5 separate regions of the Homo sapiens genome follow, and all the other regions are linked to region 2. Evidence: promoter capture Hi-C in human tissues and cell types (Jung and others, 2019). All regions are on one chromosome and are shown on one strand. The core of a region is centred on a gene start or on the middle of the fragment in contact, and the rest is flanking DNA. Distances in the headings are between cores, read along the strand shown.

What was found. The method cuts DNA at HindIII sites, captures the fragments that hold promoters and counts their contacts. A contact is called where the count stands out against the background at its distance.
Region 1: a contact is called between a fragment that was not itself captured here and the fragment with the promoter of SEZ6L in region 2, in 2 of the 25 tissues and cell types used here (dorsolateral prefrontal cortex and mesendoderm cells).
Region 3: a contact is called between a fragment that was not itself captured here and the fragment with the promoter of SEZ6L in region 2, in 2 of the 25 tissues and cell types used here (H1 embryonic stem cells and mesendoderm cells).
Region 4: a fragment that was not itself captured here is called in contact with the fragment with the promoter of SEZ6L in region 2 in 2 of the 25 tissues and cell types used here (H1 embryonic stem cells and lymphoblastoid cells).
Region 5: a fragment that was not itself captured here is called in contact with the fragment with the promoter of SEZ6L in region 2 in 2 of the 25 tissues and cell types used here (H1 embryonic stem cells and mesendoderm cells).

What each region holds. Positions count from the first base shown.
Region 1 is chr22:25,858,505-25,861,204 of GRCh38, reverse strand. The region is part of intron 21 of MYO18B (myosin XVIIIB); the gene reads right to left. Among named protein-coding and RNA genes, the nearest start is that of MYO18B-AS1, 40 kb to the left of the region's middle. The HindIII fragment of the contact is 7,727 bases long and covers 1-2,700 here.
Region 2 is chr22:26,168,189-26,170,888 of GRCh38, reverse strand. SEZ6L (seizure related 6 homolog like) reads right to left here and starts at 1,427. Exons shown (of 17, transcript NM_021115.5): 1 at 1,126-1,427. The coding sequence starts at 1,219. It overlaps LOC105372971 (a long non-coding RNA gene), which reads left to right and starts at 1,655. Exons shown (of 6, transcript NR_188586.1): 1 at 1,655-1,886. RefSeq lists an enhancer at 1-448 and a silencer at 1,275-1,404. The HindIII fragment of the contact is 7,592 bases long and covers 1-2,700 here.
Region 3 is chr22:25,767,590-25,770,289 of GRCh38, reverse strand. MYO18B (myosin XVIIIB) reads right to left here. Exons shown (of 44, transcript NM_032608.7): 4 at 862-2,175; 5 at 114-180. Among named protein-coding and RNA genes, the nearest start is that of MYO18B, 27 kb to the right of the region's middle. The HindIII fragment of the contact is 4,498 bases long and covers 1-2,700 here.
Region 4 is chr22:25,886,853-25,889,552 of GRCh38, reverse strand. The region is part of intron 25 of MYO18B (myosin XVIIIB); the gene reads right to left. All of the region lies in intron 2 of MYO18B-AS1 (MYO18B antisense RNA 1), which reads left to right. Among named protein-coding and RNA genes, the nearest start is that of MYO18B-AS1, 12 kb to the left of the region's middle. The HindIII fragment of the contact is 5,114 bases long and covers 1-2,700 here.
Region 5 is chr22:25,905,825-25,908,524 of GRCh38, reverse strand. MYO18B (myosin XVIIIB) reads right to left here. Exons shown (of 44, transcript NM_032608.7): 32 at 93-203. Among named protein-coding and RNA genes, the nearest start is that of MYO18B-AS1, 7.2 kb to the right of the region's middle. The HindIII fragment of the contact is 3,771 bases long and covers 1-2,700 here.

The DNA of each region.
Region 1 (2,700 bases), core at 30-2,529, 310 kb after region 2:
TAAACATAAACGATAGCAACATGCCAGGCACAGTGGCTCACGCCTGTTATCCCAGGACTTTGGGACACTGAGGCCAGAGGATTGCTGGAGCCCAGGAGGTCGAGACCAGACTAGGCAACACAGTAAGACCCTATCTCTAAAAAACAAAATCAGCCAGGTGTGGTGGCATATGCCTGTAGTCTGAGCAACGCAGGGGGCTGAAATAGGAGGATCGCTTGAGCCCAGGAAGTCAAGGCTGCAGTGAGCCATAATCGTGCCACTGCACTCCAGCCAGGGCAACAGAGCAAGAGCCTGCCCTGTCTCAAAAAAAAAAAAAATAGCAATGATATATAAGACTTGAACAATACTATCAACCAAATTGCCCCAACTAACATCTATAGACTACTCAACAACCACAGAATACATGTTTTTTATAAGCACACTTTGAACACTCTCCTAGATATATAATATTAGGCCACAAAATAAGTCTCAATAAAACAAACAAAAATAAATTTAAAAGTACTGAAATCATATAACATATGTTCTCAAACTAAAATGGAATTAAATTAGAAACCAACAAGAAAAAAGGTGAGAAAGTTCCAAATATGTAGAAATTAATACACTTCTTAATAAACAACGGGCCAAAGAAGAAATCACACTAGGAATTAGAAAATATCTTGAACTAAATGAAAATTTTTGTGTGATGCAGCCAAAGTAGTACTTTGAGGAAAATGTATGCTTTAACCATGTATATTGGAAGAGGAGAAGGATTTTGAACCAATAATTTGAGCAAGATTCCTTTTTAAGAAACCAGGAAAAGTAGAGAAAACTCAAATCAAGTGAAAGGAAGGAAGTAACATAGAGTGGAAATCAATAGAAGACAATAGAACCAAAGAAAACAGAAAAACAACAGAGAAAAAAAATCAGTGAAATCAAAAGTTTGTCCTTTGAAAAGACAAAACTGATGAAGTTTATTTACACTGACCAAGGAATAAAGAGGCAGAAAGAAAGAGATGCTACTAATTAGTACAGTCAGACCAATAGAATGAATTTAGATTACGAAAATAAACTCTTTATTTATGGCCAATAAATGTTTGACAAAGGTTCCAACACAATTCGCTGGGAGAAATGATAATAGTCTTTCCAACAAATGGTACTGGGACAATTGAATATCCATATGCAGAAAGATGAATATAGGCATGTATGTTACACCATACACAAAATTAACACACAATAGATCAAATGTCTACACGGAGGAGCTAAAACTACAAATCTTGTAGCGGAAAATGGGAGAATATCTCTGTAACCGAGGGGTAGGTAAAGCGTTCTTAGATATGAAAAAAGCACCAGTCACTTAAAAAATTAGTAAACTGAACTTCATAAAAATCTCTGTGCATCATTATGAAAATGAAAAGACAAGCCACAGGCTGGAAGAAAATATTTTCAAAGATACATCTGATAAATAATTATGTCTAGAACAAATAAAGAACTAGTACAACTCTATAAGATAAACAGCCTAATTAAAATGGGCAAAAAAAATAGAGTTTCACAAAAAAAGAGATAAAATGGCTACTAGGCACATGCAAAAAAAAAAGTCAACATCATTAGGGAAAATGCAAATTAAAACCACAATGAGATGCCGCTTTGCACACAACAGAATGGCTTGAATCAAAAAGGCAAACAATTCCAAGTATTGATAAGGATAGAAAATGAAACCCTCACACATTGCCAGTGAGGATGAACAATGGTAGAGCCACTTTGAAAAATAACTTGACAGTTTCTTTAAAAGTTATATTTAAAAGTTACACATAAATTTACCATATAAACTAGCAATTCTCCTCCAAGAATGCACCCAAAAAAAGTAGAAACATGTTTCTGTGCAAAGACTGATATGCAAATGTTCACAACATCCTTTTTCATAATAGTCAGAAAATCAAAAACTATCCAAATGTAGTTTAGAGATGATCAGTTGATTAAATATCTACTACTATTAATCAAAAAATATTTTATCTTAACAATTATTTGAGGTTTTTAAGGCAAATATTAAAGCCTTCATTGTATAGAAGGGGCATTAAAATCCATAGAAATAGTAAAATTACTATTTTTACAACAAAATCATAATTGATTACATTTATTATTTACTCTGTGTATATGAAAGTCACCATGTCAATACGTTAAATTGCTCAATCCTCCTATCAACAGTATTAGAAACTATTAGTATGCCATTTTAAGATAATAAAACTAAGTCAAAGAAAGGCTGAGTGACTTGTCAAATGTCACACAGCCAGTGAGCAGATTAGACACAGTATGTGCTCAGAAAGCCTGACTCCAGAATCTGTATCCTTAACCTGTTAAGCTATCCCACTTCGAATTCACAACTAGTAAGATTCATTCAGTGAAGCATCCCAGGCATTGAGCATAGATGGGTCATCGTCTTCACTGTAAGTCAACATTACACCTCAGCAAACATGGCTCTTGGCAAACCTGAGATCTCTCCACCTTAAGTAGGAAAATTCCGATAGCCTGTGTCAAATTGAGCCCAGATTTTGGGGTCTAACTGATTTCAGTCACATCCAACCCACAGCCCCCACTTACAGAGTTCCATTGTTTCCTAGAATTTTGCAAAGAGCTTTCTCTCCAATGTTCAAGAAGAGTGTACCCGAAAAGCATATGGGCTGACATCTCACATTTGGCTGTATATGCCAGACAGGCAGAGAGACT
Region 2 (2,700 bases), core at 178-2,677:
GACAGAGGCGGAGCCCCAGATAAGCATAGTGCCTGCGCTCCCTCTGTCTTCAGCCTGGGCAGACCCTGCAGCTGTCTGCTTTTTTACACGTGAGGAGCGCATTTCTGGGACCTTGCAAGAAGGCCGGGTCCTGTGGCCAACTAACCCTCCCATTGATTTTCGGGTCTCCTAGGTGCCTGAGAAAACCCCCGAAGCTCTGAGGGTTAGCTTTGGGTGAGTTAGGCGTTGCACCCCTCTCTCTATCTGGCCCTCTCCCCCACCCATAACTTTTCCTGGGGTACCTTACCGGGGTGGAGAGAGGGTATGGTTCCAGGTCTGAGAAAGAGGAGCTGTCATTCTCTGCTAAATTTGGGCCCCTCTTCCCCTTCAACAAACACGTGGTAGATGAAACTAACACCCCTCACCCCCCATTCCTAACAGTGATCAGAGATGCTAGGCAGTAGGGGAGAGAGTAGAGGGGAGCCCGTTCAGGTTCCCAACTGCTAACTAACATCTCTTCTCCCTCCCCTACCAAGTTCTCAGAGCCCTCAGCCCCCTCCACCGGCCTCTAGCGAAAGCCACACCCAAGTCCGGTATCCTGACGCTTGGCTGAGATCGATCCAGGAACACAGACCCTCGGGGTAGCCTGAACCAAAGGAGTCAAGGGTTTCTGTGGTGTCGGGGGGAGCGGCAAATGCACTGTTTGAGTCTAGTCCTCAGTTGCAGGGTGGGTCAGCTTCTCACCCCCCTTCCTGTCCTCTCCCGGAGAGGAAGATAATTATCTGGCACCTAGCCCCGGGTGCGGTTGCAGAGAAGCGCCGGGAATTTGGGGTTTGGAGGCGACCCCACTCCAAGGAGAACCTCTTTGGCTGCAAAGGAGAATCAGCCCCGCAGCCGGGGAAGACCGAAAGGGAGCCCGCAGCCGAAGCAGGGAAGCGCCCGAGTCCTTCAACACATCCCCGCCTCCACACTCCCATCAGCCCGGGCCAAGGGGACGTGCGGTTCCTAGCCCCGATTTTGGACAGCCACCACCGCTTCCCATCCCGGCGGGTGGTGCCTGAGTCGCCCTGGTCAGCCCCGACCCCTGGCTGCCCCGCTCTCCCGGCAACTTTGCCCCCTGCCCGCCCCGCCCCTCGGGGCGCTTACCTCGCTCCAGCGCTGCCGCCGGGCTCCCCAGGAGCAGAGCGAGGAACAGCGAGATCCCGCGGAGTCCCGCGGCGGGCGGCCGGGCCGCGGGCATCGTGGCTGCAGGGGGCGCGGAGCCGCTGGCTGTGGGGCGGGCGGACGGCGAGGGAGCTGGGGAAGGAGGGCGGCGGTGAGCGAGAAAGGGGAAGCGGGAGCGAGGGAGGAGGCCGCGGGCCGGGGCAGCTTCCGGAGCCCCCTGGGCGGACGCGCGCTCAGCCCCGCGGTCGCTCTGGCCGAGCTGCGCCGGGCGCGGGCGGGCGAGTGAGGAGGAGCCGGCGAGCGAGCGAACGAGCGTGGAGCGAGCGGGAGGAGGGAGGGGGCTGGGGCCGAGTCTGTGCCGAGCGAGTGCAGGGAGGGAGGGGGCGGGCGAGCGGGCAGTGAGCTGGAGGGGCCGCGGCGGCGCCGGGGGTGCCAGCCGCCTCCTCTGGCCGCCGGCCCGTCGGCCCTGCAAAGTTTAACGCCAATTCCCCTTGCGTCCTGGGAGCCGAGCGTTTTCTCTCCCTGCTGACGCTCCCAGCAGCTCTGCCTGGCCAGGCCAGGCTGGAGAGCACCCGGACCATTTTCCAGACGGTGAGATGGAGCCCTGGAAACCGAGCTTATGAGCAGCCCGGAGCTTTCCATTGCCTGCCCAGCCTTCCAGATACATCCCAGTTCCAGTTCTTTCCAGAGCCCTCTGGGATCCAGCCAGCCTGCTTCCCCGCCAGGGCCTCACTGCTTCCAAAGTGAGTCCCCATAACCTAGAAAGTCTGTAACTCTGTGGATCTGGTGACAGCTGTGAATCTACTAGAACACTACACATAGCCACAAAATCGTGCATCTAACACGAGGGGGTCTGGACCCCTCTGAAGCCCAATCACGAACTCTAAATTAAGATCCACCTCCACTTTTTAATCTGAGCCCTGTCTCCCATAACCCCACTGCCGGCAGGGCACTAGCGCTGCGAGGCTTCCTCTCAGGTCAGCCGCTTGCCTCTTCCTGTACCCGCTTCCCTATCTGAGCAGGACTACAAGGCCCACCTCTGCAGCATTCTTGCCCAGGCCTGATTCTCAAGCAAAGTCTTTTCTCCACAAATAGAGGTAGTGAGGGACAATCAATGAGGGAGATAAACAGATACTTGGGGACAGACATTGGCAGAGAGCTAGGTGGGGACAAGCTTATGCACAGTCCTGGAGACTGACTGTCTCTCCCTGCGTAGCCTTGGCAGACCGGTCAGGCTTTACAGGCCTCTCACCCAATTTAGAAGCTGTCCTCCTCCCCCTACCCTACCTTGCCATACTATCTACACACTGCAGCCTGAACAGGCAGAGGGAGCAGATGGAGAGAAGGTTGCAGGCAGCAACAGGGGGAGGAATATGTCTTTAGCAGCGTGGTGGAGCCGGGAGTCCCTAGAAAGAATGGGTGGGGGAGGTGAACACTGGATGGAGGAGGGAAGGAGAAGCACTCTGGCCCAGGGTTTCAGAAGACGCTCCACACCCAGAGCTTCCCCATTTACTCACTCAAACAATGCTCTTTTACAGGCCACTGACTATAGGCCCA
Region 3 (2,700 bases), core at 50-2,549, 400 kb after region 2:
CTCTTCCCTCCTGACCACCAAAGTATAATCAGGACCTGGAACATATGGCTGGCAGCAGTAGGGGGCACAGGAGAAGACTCAGACCCTCCAAAGGTGCTAACACCCCTACTTACCAAGAGTAAATCCATCCTTCTGAGCCAGCCAGACTTTCTCTGCCTCATACCATCTGTCCTCAGGAGCCTGAGAACCAACATCACGTAAATTAAACCAGCAAATGGCACCGCTGCCCATCTTCTACCTTACACGGGGGTTTCTCACAGTGTGCTCTGGAGCCATCTAAACCAGAATCTCCTGGGGGAGAACAGGAGAGGGAGTGTGCTTATTTAAATGCAGATTCCCGTTGCGGACCCGGGAGGTGGAGCCGAGATCACACCACTGCACCATCTAGCCTGGGTGACAGAGCAAGACTCCGTCTCAAAAAAAAAAAAAATACTACATAAATGCAGATTCCTGGGCCCCACTCCTGGCCTTTGAAATGAGAGACTCCATGGCTGGCCCCAGGAATCTGCATTTTTAACAATCTACTCGTTATGCCATCCCGTTTGAAAGCTGTCGTGTGACATCATAAGCAAGCTCTACCATGTCAGCCGTGAGGAGACACCTCACACTTTGGGGACCTTCCCTCACTCTGTGGGGAATTCCCACCCCAGGGCAGGTGCAATGGAAACTTCAAGACTTCTGCTCATGGAGGAAGTGCTCGTCCCCTCCTCTGGGTGCCTTGCAGTTCCAGCCACCCCTCTCCAATTCCCTGCCCACCCCCCGTCCACCCCTTGTCCATCCCTGGGGCAGATCTTTCCCATCCCTGCATCTCTGGAGAGGCCTGTCTGCCGCTTCCCGCTCCCAGGGCCGCAGCCCCCTCACCTGGTCTGAGTCTCTGCTCTGGCCTCCTTTGCCCTCCTCCTGCGGGGCTGGCCCGTCTTGGTTCTCCTTCCGTATCCGAGGCCTTTCTGCATCCTTCTCCAGAGCAGGCTGGCTGGGTCCTTCCAGCTCTGTCTCCAGGGCACCAGCCCCATCACCTGCTCTTGAGCAGGGCTCCTCTGCTTCCTGCCCACGGCTTCCTGGCCAGCCTCCCTTCCCAGGAGCTGCTGGCGACTCCACCATTGTGCTCACCTCCTTTGGGGCTTCACAGCCCTTCTCTGTCTGACTCCGAGCTTCACCTGCGTTCCCGGACTTACCCTGGGGTTGCCCCATCTTTTCCTTCTTATCCCAGGACTCACCTGCCTTCCCAGTCGTGCTCCGAAGCTCACCTGCTTTCTCCCCCATTCTCAGATCGTCCCCCAACTCGCCCTGCACTTGGCTTGTCTTCTCCATCTGGGTCTGAGGCTCACCTGTCTTCTCTGCCTTACTTAAGAGCACCCCTTCTTTGTCCTTCTTATTCTGGGGACCGTCCCACTTACTCCTTCTTCCCAGGAAACCTCCCCACTTTCTCCCAGGGATTTGGGGCCTTACGTGCTTCCCTTCACTCCCTACGTCCTTAGAGACATTCCCCTTTTCCACCGTGTTTGTGGGCTCTGCTCCCTCCTTCTCTGCTTTCCCTGGTCGCACCCCCTCGCCGGGCCCTTGGGCTTGGGGCCTGGTCCCCTGCCTGTCTTTGCCCTGGGGCTCAGCCTCTTTCAGCTCTGTGGTCTTGGGGGTCCCAAGCCCCTTCCCCACTATGCTTTGACCCTCCTCGCCTTTTTTCAGTGCCACAGTTCCTTGGCCTGGGTCCCCAAGACCCCCAGTCCGGGTCTTCTCAGCTTTCGGGGCCAAGATCTCGGTGCTGGCCTGGGAGCCACAAGGAGTCCTAGAGGTCTCCCCTTTCTTTTCCTTTCCAGTATCTGTGGCGGGGGGAGAGGTCTTGCAAGGGGGGGCGTCATGGGGATGAGTCTTCTCTGGCTTGGCTGAGTCCGGGTCCAGCTTGGCCACCATCAACAACACATCACCCCTCCTCACGCCCCTCTTGAAGGGGACAGTCTTTTTGGTTGGTGTCGCACTGGAGCCCAGCTCCTGGGCCTTCTCACCATTGATGCTTGTCATCTGCTCAGGGTCGGGGCTGCGGGACCCCTCGCTCTCCTTGCCCAGAATGTCTGAGCTCCCAGGAGAGCTTGACTGGTCGTCCTGAGAGATCTGCTGGCTTCCAGATCTGGTGCCACTGCTGGACTTGCTGTTGGGTTGGCTGATGGAAATTTCTGGGATCTGGGAGAAAGAACACAACCATGCCTACATAGCTGCTTGCTGACCTGACAGCTTTGTCATTCACTCGTGTTCGTTCATTCATTTCATTGTTCACTTCTCCATTCATCCTTCCACAGATGCTCGAGCACCTCCAAATCCAACAGGCATGGCCAAGCCTAGCACCCTTGACCTTGGCCTAGCCCCTCAAAGTTGAGTGATGGAGTGGAAGGAGTGGACTTTGGAGCCCAACAGAACCAAGTTCAACTCCTGACTCTGACACTCTATAGCTGTGTGACCTTAGCTAAATGACTTCTCCTCTCTGAGTCTGTTTTTTAATCAATAAAATGAGAATGATAAAAGCCTACCTTGCAGGGTAGGTGTGAGAATGTGTGACAATATGTAGAAACTGAGCCCAGCGCATAGTGTGTCCTCAACAACAGTAGCTGCTGCTACTACTGTTGTTATTTCTGCCTGGATTTTTCCTAGGCGAGTAGGGGATCCAGGAAAGGACTCAGGGCCTGTCACTAGAGGACCTGTTCTCACCTT
Region 4 (2,700 bases), core at 152-2,651, 280 kb after region 2:
AGAGGTAGGGTGCAAGGTTCGAGTCCAGACTCAACAACTAACACCTTGGACATTCCCTCCTGCTCTGGAGCCTTGGTCACCTGAGCTGTAAAATGCATTGAATTGGGTGCGGTCACATGTCCTCCTGCTGTAAATTTTGCATGTGAAGATGTTAGAATGCCTCACTCTTTCATCGGACCCTCTGCATCATGACTGATATTTAGAGGCGACTCTGCATTATCTTTACTGAGAAGGTAAATGGTTCTTACAATGAGCAACGTAGCTGCCCTTCCCGAGCTAGCCTCTCTCGGTACTGTCAGCTTAGGCAGGCTCAAAATTTATTCAGCTGTCCCATGAAGAAGGAAGACGCAGATCTATGTTCTGACATAAAAAAAATATATCCCCAAGATATATTGCCAAAGGGGAAAAAAAGGCAAATTTCCAGAATAGAATGTTTGGTGTAATCCCATTTTTGTTTGCACAGAACAAAGCACTCCCAAACTGTTAATTGAGATTTTTTTTTTTTTCCTGGAAGGATGGGCTCACAGGGAACTCCAATTTTCTTGTGATGCATTTCTGTACTGTTGATTTTTTAACTGATTTTGTAATCAGAAAACAAAACATCTTTCAAAAAGAGTGAACAAAATCTGAGGCTGCTCTGTGCATTCCATGCTCCCCATCTGTTTCACTTCTCCAGCCCATCTGCCTCCCACCCTGTTGACCGCATCACCGACTGCTGAGACCAAAATGCACATTTCAATAGACGCAGAGGAGAAAGAAGGCTTGGGGGAAGCACTGCAAAGTCACATCACATGTAAAAGGCAGAACTGAGATTTGAACTCAGACCAGTCAGGTCCAAGTCAGGACCTCCAGTTAATTAATGAGGGACTCTCCTAGGGTGTTCCTGGTTGTCTCCAGCATGGGAGCTTTCTCTTGCTGTTCCTTACACCGTGCACCAGGGAAGTACTTATGTGGCAATGACCTCAGATGGTTGTTAAAATGCAAATTCTAGGGCAGAGCATGATAGCTCATGTTTGTAATCCCAGTGCTTTGACAGGCTGAGGTAGGAGGATCACTTGAGGCCAGGAGTTCAAGACCAGCCTGGGCAACATAGCAAGACCCTGGCTTTAAAAAGTTTTTAAAAATAAACCAGCCGAGATGGTGTGTGCCTATAGTCCCAGCTGCTCTGGAAGCTGAGGCAGGAGGATCACTTGATCCCAGGGGTTTAGGCTGCAGCAGCTATGATCACACCACTGCACTCCAGCCTGAGTGACAGAGTGAGACCCTGACTCTTAAAAAAATAAAAGAAAATGCAAATTATAGGACTCTCAGACCCCCAAACCAGGATCTCTAAAGCATAATTCAGGAATCTACATTTCAACCTGCTCCAGGGTGATTTTTATGAACAAAAAAATTTAGGAATTACTGCCATAGAAACTGCCAGGGTCTCCTCCTAATTTTGGCCTCACACTTGGATTTGAAGGGGTTAGATTTGCTTAAGGCTGTGCAAAATCATTCTTGCTGCAAGAGTGCTGATTTGCACTGGCCACACAATACAGGGAGGTGCAAGCCAGGAATGCCCCAGGTCACACCCCAAACACCATCCTTGAAATTAGCATTAATTCCAAGCACCAGGACTGTGTTCTCTCCACCTTAGCCAATTAGTGTGAAATTTAATTTATGCTAACCGGCCTGAGCAAGGGGACCACACAATTAATTTGATGCATTAATTTTGAGTTTCACAGAACCCAAAGTCTGGAGCCCAAAGGACAATTAGTCTTTTCAAATTGGGGGAAATGACACATGTTTTTCTCAGAGACAAGGTGCCCCTGACCTTCCCCTGTCCCCATAAATCCCTATCCCTTCCCACACCATGGGGCACAGGGGCTTTGGATGGAGGTGAGGAGCAGGCACCATGCTCAGAGCTGTCAGGCGATTGCAAATTGAAAACCAATTTAATGAAGGGGGGAGTCTGGTTTGCAAACCCAGAAGAGTCCTTGCAGATTACTCAAGAACCAATTAACCAGAAATTATCTTGAAAACCTCTCCGGATCTACCACTTGGCCAAACCAACAGAAATATTCTTTCTATTGAGGGACAATTACTCCAAGGGCCTGCCAGAGAGAAGGGGACAGGAATTAATAAATTTGTTGTATATTTTGTATGGAGTGGAACAGAAAAAAAAATATCCTGTGCACTGGCCTCATTTGCAGCTTGGGCGAGCAGTGAGTAACTGGGATTTCACGGATGTTAAATGCTGGAGGACACACCTGGGGTCCTTGGGACCGTCACTGTTGCTTGTTCTTCACGGATCCAACAAGCACTATGTGAGCACTTACTGTGTGCCAGGTCCTGTTCTGAAGGACCCCACTGGCCAGTCAGAGAGACAAACAAACCACAGGGGCACACACGGGTCTTGGCTTGATCCTGTCCTCAGCTCTTATATTCATAGACTGTCAAGCCCAAAAACCATCTGACCTGCAGACAGCAGGAAACAGCAACTTTTTGCTCTCCTCCCATACTTTGCAATTTGCACAGAAAGATCTGTTCATTATAACCCCTTGGGTGAGAAACAGCTCACACTCTTGAAATGCTGAGGATAGGTATGCCCTAAGCATTTGGCATATGTCATTTGCCTTAAGCCCTTCAAATACCTTATGAGAAGGGCATTTTTGTTATTCCCCTTTTACAGAACAGGAAACTGGGGAGTTGAGAGAGGGA
Region 5 (2,700 bases), core at 16-2,515, 260 kb after region 2:
AGACCCTGTCCTACTCCTCGCTCTAAGGAAGAGGGAATCCATGCCAGACCTGCCAGGATCCAAGGGCACAGCTGTGTTCACTGCTCACGTACCCGCTTCTGGCAGGACTGACGGACATCCTCCAGTTCCTCCTCCTGGTCCTCACGGTCCTTCTGGTGCATCTGCTTCATCCGCTCGATCTCCAGCTCAAACCGCTGGCGGAGCTGCGGGGGCAGCAAGGACAGCACGTGAGGGTGACCCACTCTAACTCTCCAAGCCCTCCATGTCATCCTTGGCATTCCAATTGCATTTCTCATTTTTGGAATACATAAATGAGAGTCAAGTTATTGCCCTAGGCATCCTGGAAGATCACAAATGGTGGGTAAATAGATTAAATATTGCCTCTATCCATTCTTGTGCTTATAACAGACATCACTCATCAATCACACTTTCCCACTGAGTTTAGAAGCAGCCTCAGAATCCTTCTCAACACTCTTTTTTTTTTTTTTTTTGAGATGGAGTTTCCCTCTTGTTGCCTAGGCTGGAGTGCCACGGCGCAATCTCGGCTCACCACAACCTCCACCTCCTGGCTTTAAGCGATTCTCCTGCTCAGCCTCCCAAGTAGCTGGGATTACAGGCATGTGCCACCACACCTGGCTAATTTTTGTATTTTAGTAGAAACGGAGTTTCTCCATGTTGATCAAGATGATCTCAAACTCCTGACCTCAGGTGATCCACCCGCCTCAGCCTCCCAAAGTGCTGGGATTATAGGTGTGAGCCACCGGGCCCGGCCCCCTTCTCAACACTCTTAAGATGAAACATATTTCTCATTCCTGGAGCAGGCAACAGCGATGGTTTTCTGGGTGAGTGGATAGGTAGATGAATGGTAGGACAAAAGTGTATGAAGACATGAAAGCCTGGAAAAGAAGATGATTTGCCCAAAATGTTATCTGAGACAATTCACTTTACCTCTAGGTCAGTCCCCTTTCTCTGTAGAAAACAACCGTCTTAGAATGCTACTATGAGAATTAAATGATGATATAAAGCACCTAGCACAGTATCTGATACATAAATATTACTTTCTCTTTCCCCATTATTTCGAAAACAGAAAAGACTATCCCCTCCCTCCCTGGCAACCTGACATAATTAAGAGCTGTGATCCCATGAATGAGCTGGGTCTTTCAAACAAGAACCTCCAAAACACATGCAACAGGCATAGAGCCGTGCATAATGTTGGAACTGTGTGAAGTCGTATAAAGGGTTCTAGAGTGGAAGGCAAAAAAGTCATGAGTTCTAGGTCTAGTTCAAGACTTCACTTTCCTGATCTGCATGATTTACAGATTGGCCCAAGCCCTGGCTTCTCAAATTTTGTGGCACGTTAGAATTACAAACGCATTTTTAAAACATACAAATTGCAGGGCTTCACCCTAGACCTACTGGATTAGAATCCCCAGGGTACAGGGCCCAAGAAAGCTTTGAAGCTTTCCTTTATCTGTCTATACTCTTTAATGTTACTGGATCATGAAAAAGCATTTGGAACTCAATAGCGTAGATGGGTGATATGGTTAGGCTCTGTGTCCCCACCCAAATCTCATTTTGAATTTTAATTCCCATAATTCCCACAGGTCAAGGGAAGGACCTGGTGGGAGGTGATTGGATCACAGGGGGTGGTTTCCCTTGTGCTTTTCTCATGATAGTGAATGAGTTTTCTTAAGATATGATGGTTTTATACGTGACTGCTCCTGCTTCACACACTCTCTCTTGCCAGCCACCATGTAAGACTTGCCTGCTTCCCCTTCCACCGTGACTGTAAGTTTCCTGAGGCCTCCCCAGCCATGTGGAACTGTGAGTCAATTAAACCTCTTTTTTGCATAAATTACCCAGTCTCAGGCAGTTCTTCACAGCAGTGTGAAAACAGACTAATACAATGGGTTACATTGTAGAAATGATAACTTTCTGATCATTTACTCTACTGTCCCAGCACCTCTCATCAAGCTTTTGGAACTTAACAAGTGCTGTCCCCAACATGGACAGAAAAAAACAATCTGGGTCTTTTAAAATGTTGATAATATTCCCTGCTATGCCGTGGTGAGGAGCAAAAGGATAGTGTACGTCAGAGGCCCTGTTACAGTTTCTGGCATAAAGTAGGCTCACTTTAAATGTCAACTTCTTGCCTTTTTTTCCTTTAAAATGACAGGGGTTGTGGGAAGATAATCCAAAACCAAGGAGCCTGAGCAAGTAACTATAATATTTCTTTTTCATTTTTTCTAGCCTCTTGGACATTCTTGACATCTGCAATACCATTTATGTCAAACTTATACGAGTTAACATAAAATTCCCTGGAAAAAGTGTTGTATTATAATCAATAAATATCCACTGGATGTCTACAAGGGCACAATGCAGCCTGAGGTTATGGGTGAAGCTGAAGACGGATGAAAGTGTTGAGTCAGCCTCATCTCCTGGGTGAACTGAGCATGGAAATTCAGGCAGCTGCATTAAGTTTTGGGTCCCTGAGGCCATGGTAATACATTTTTGCTTCCGAGCACTAAGTGGTCCCCCAGTGGTATCTTAAAGAGTTAACACAGTTTTCAAGAGGGCTTGTTTTATTCTTGGCTCTGTGAAGATCCTGCTCATTTAAGGAACACAAGGAACACTGGGGTGCTACATGGCACTGCACCGTCATCCATGCCCTTTAAAGACCTACACAGATATTCCACCTTC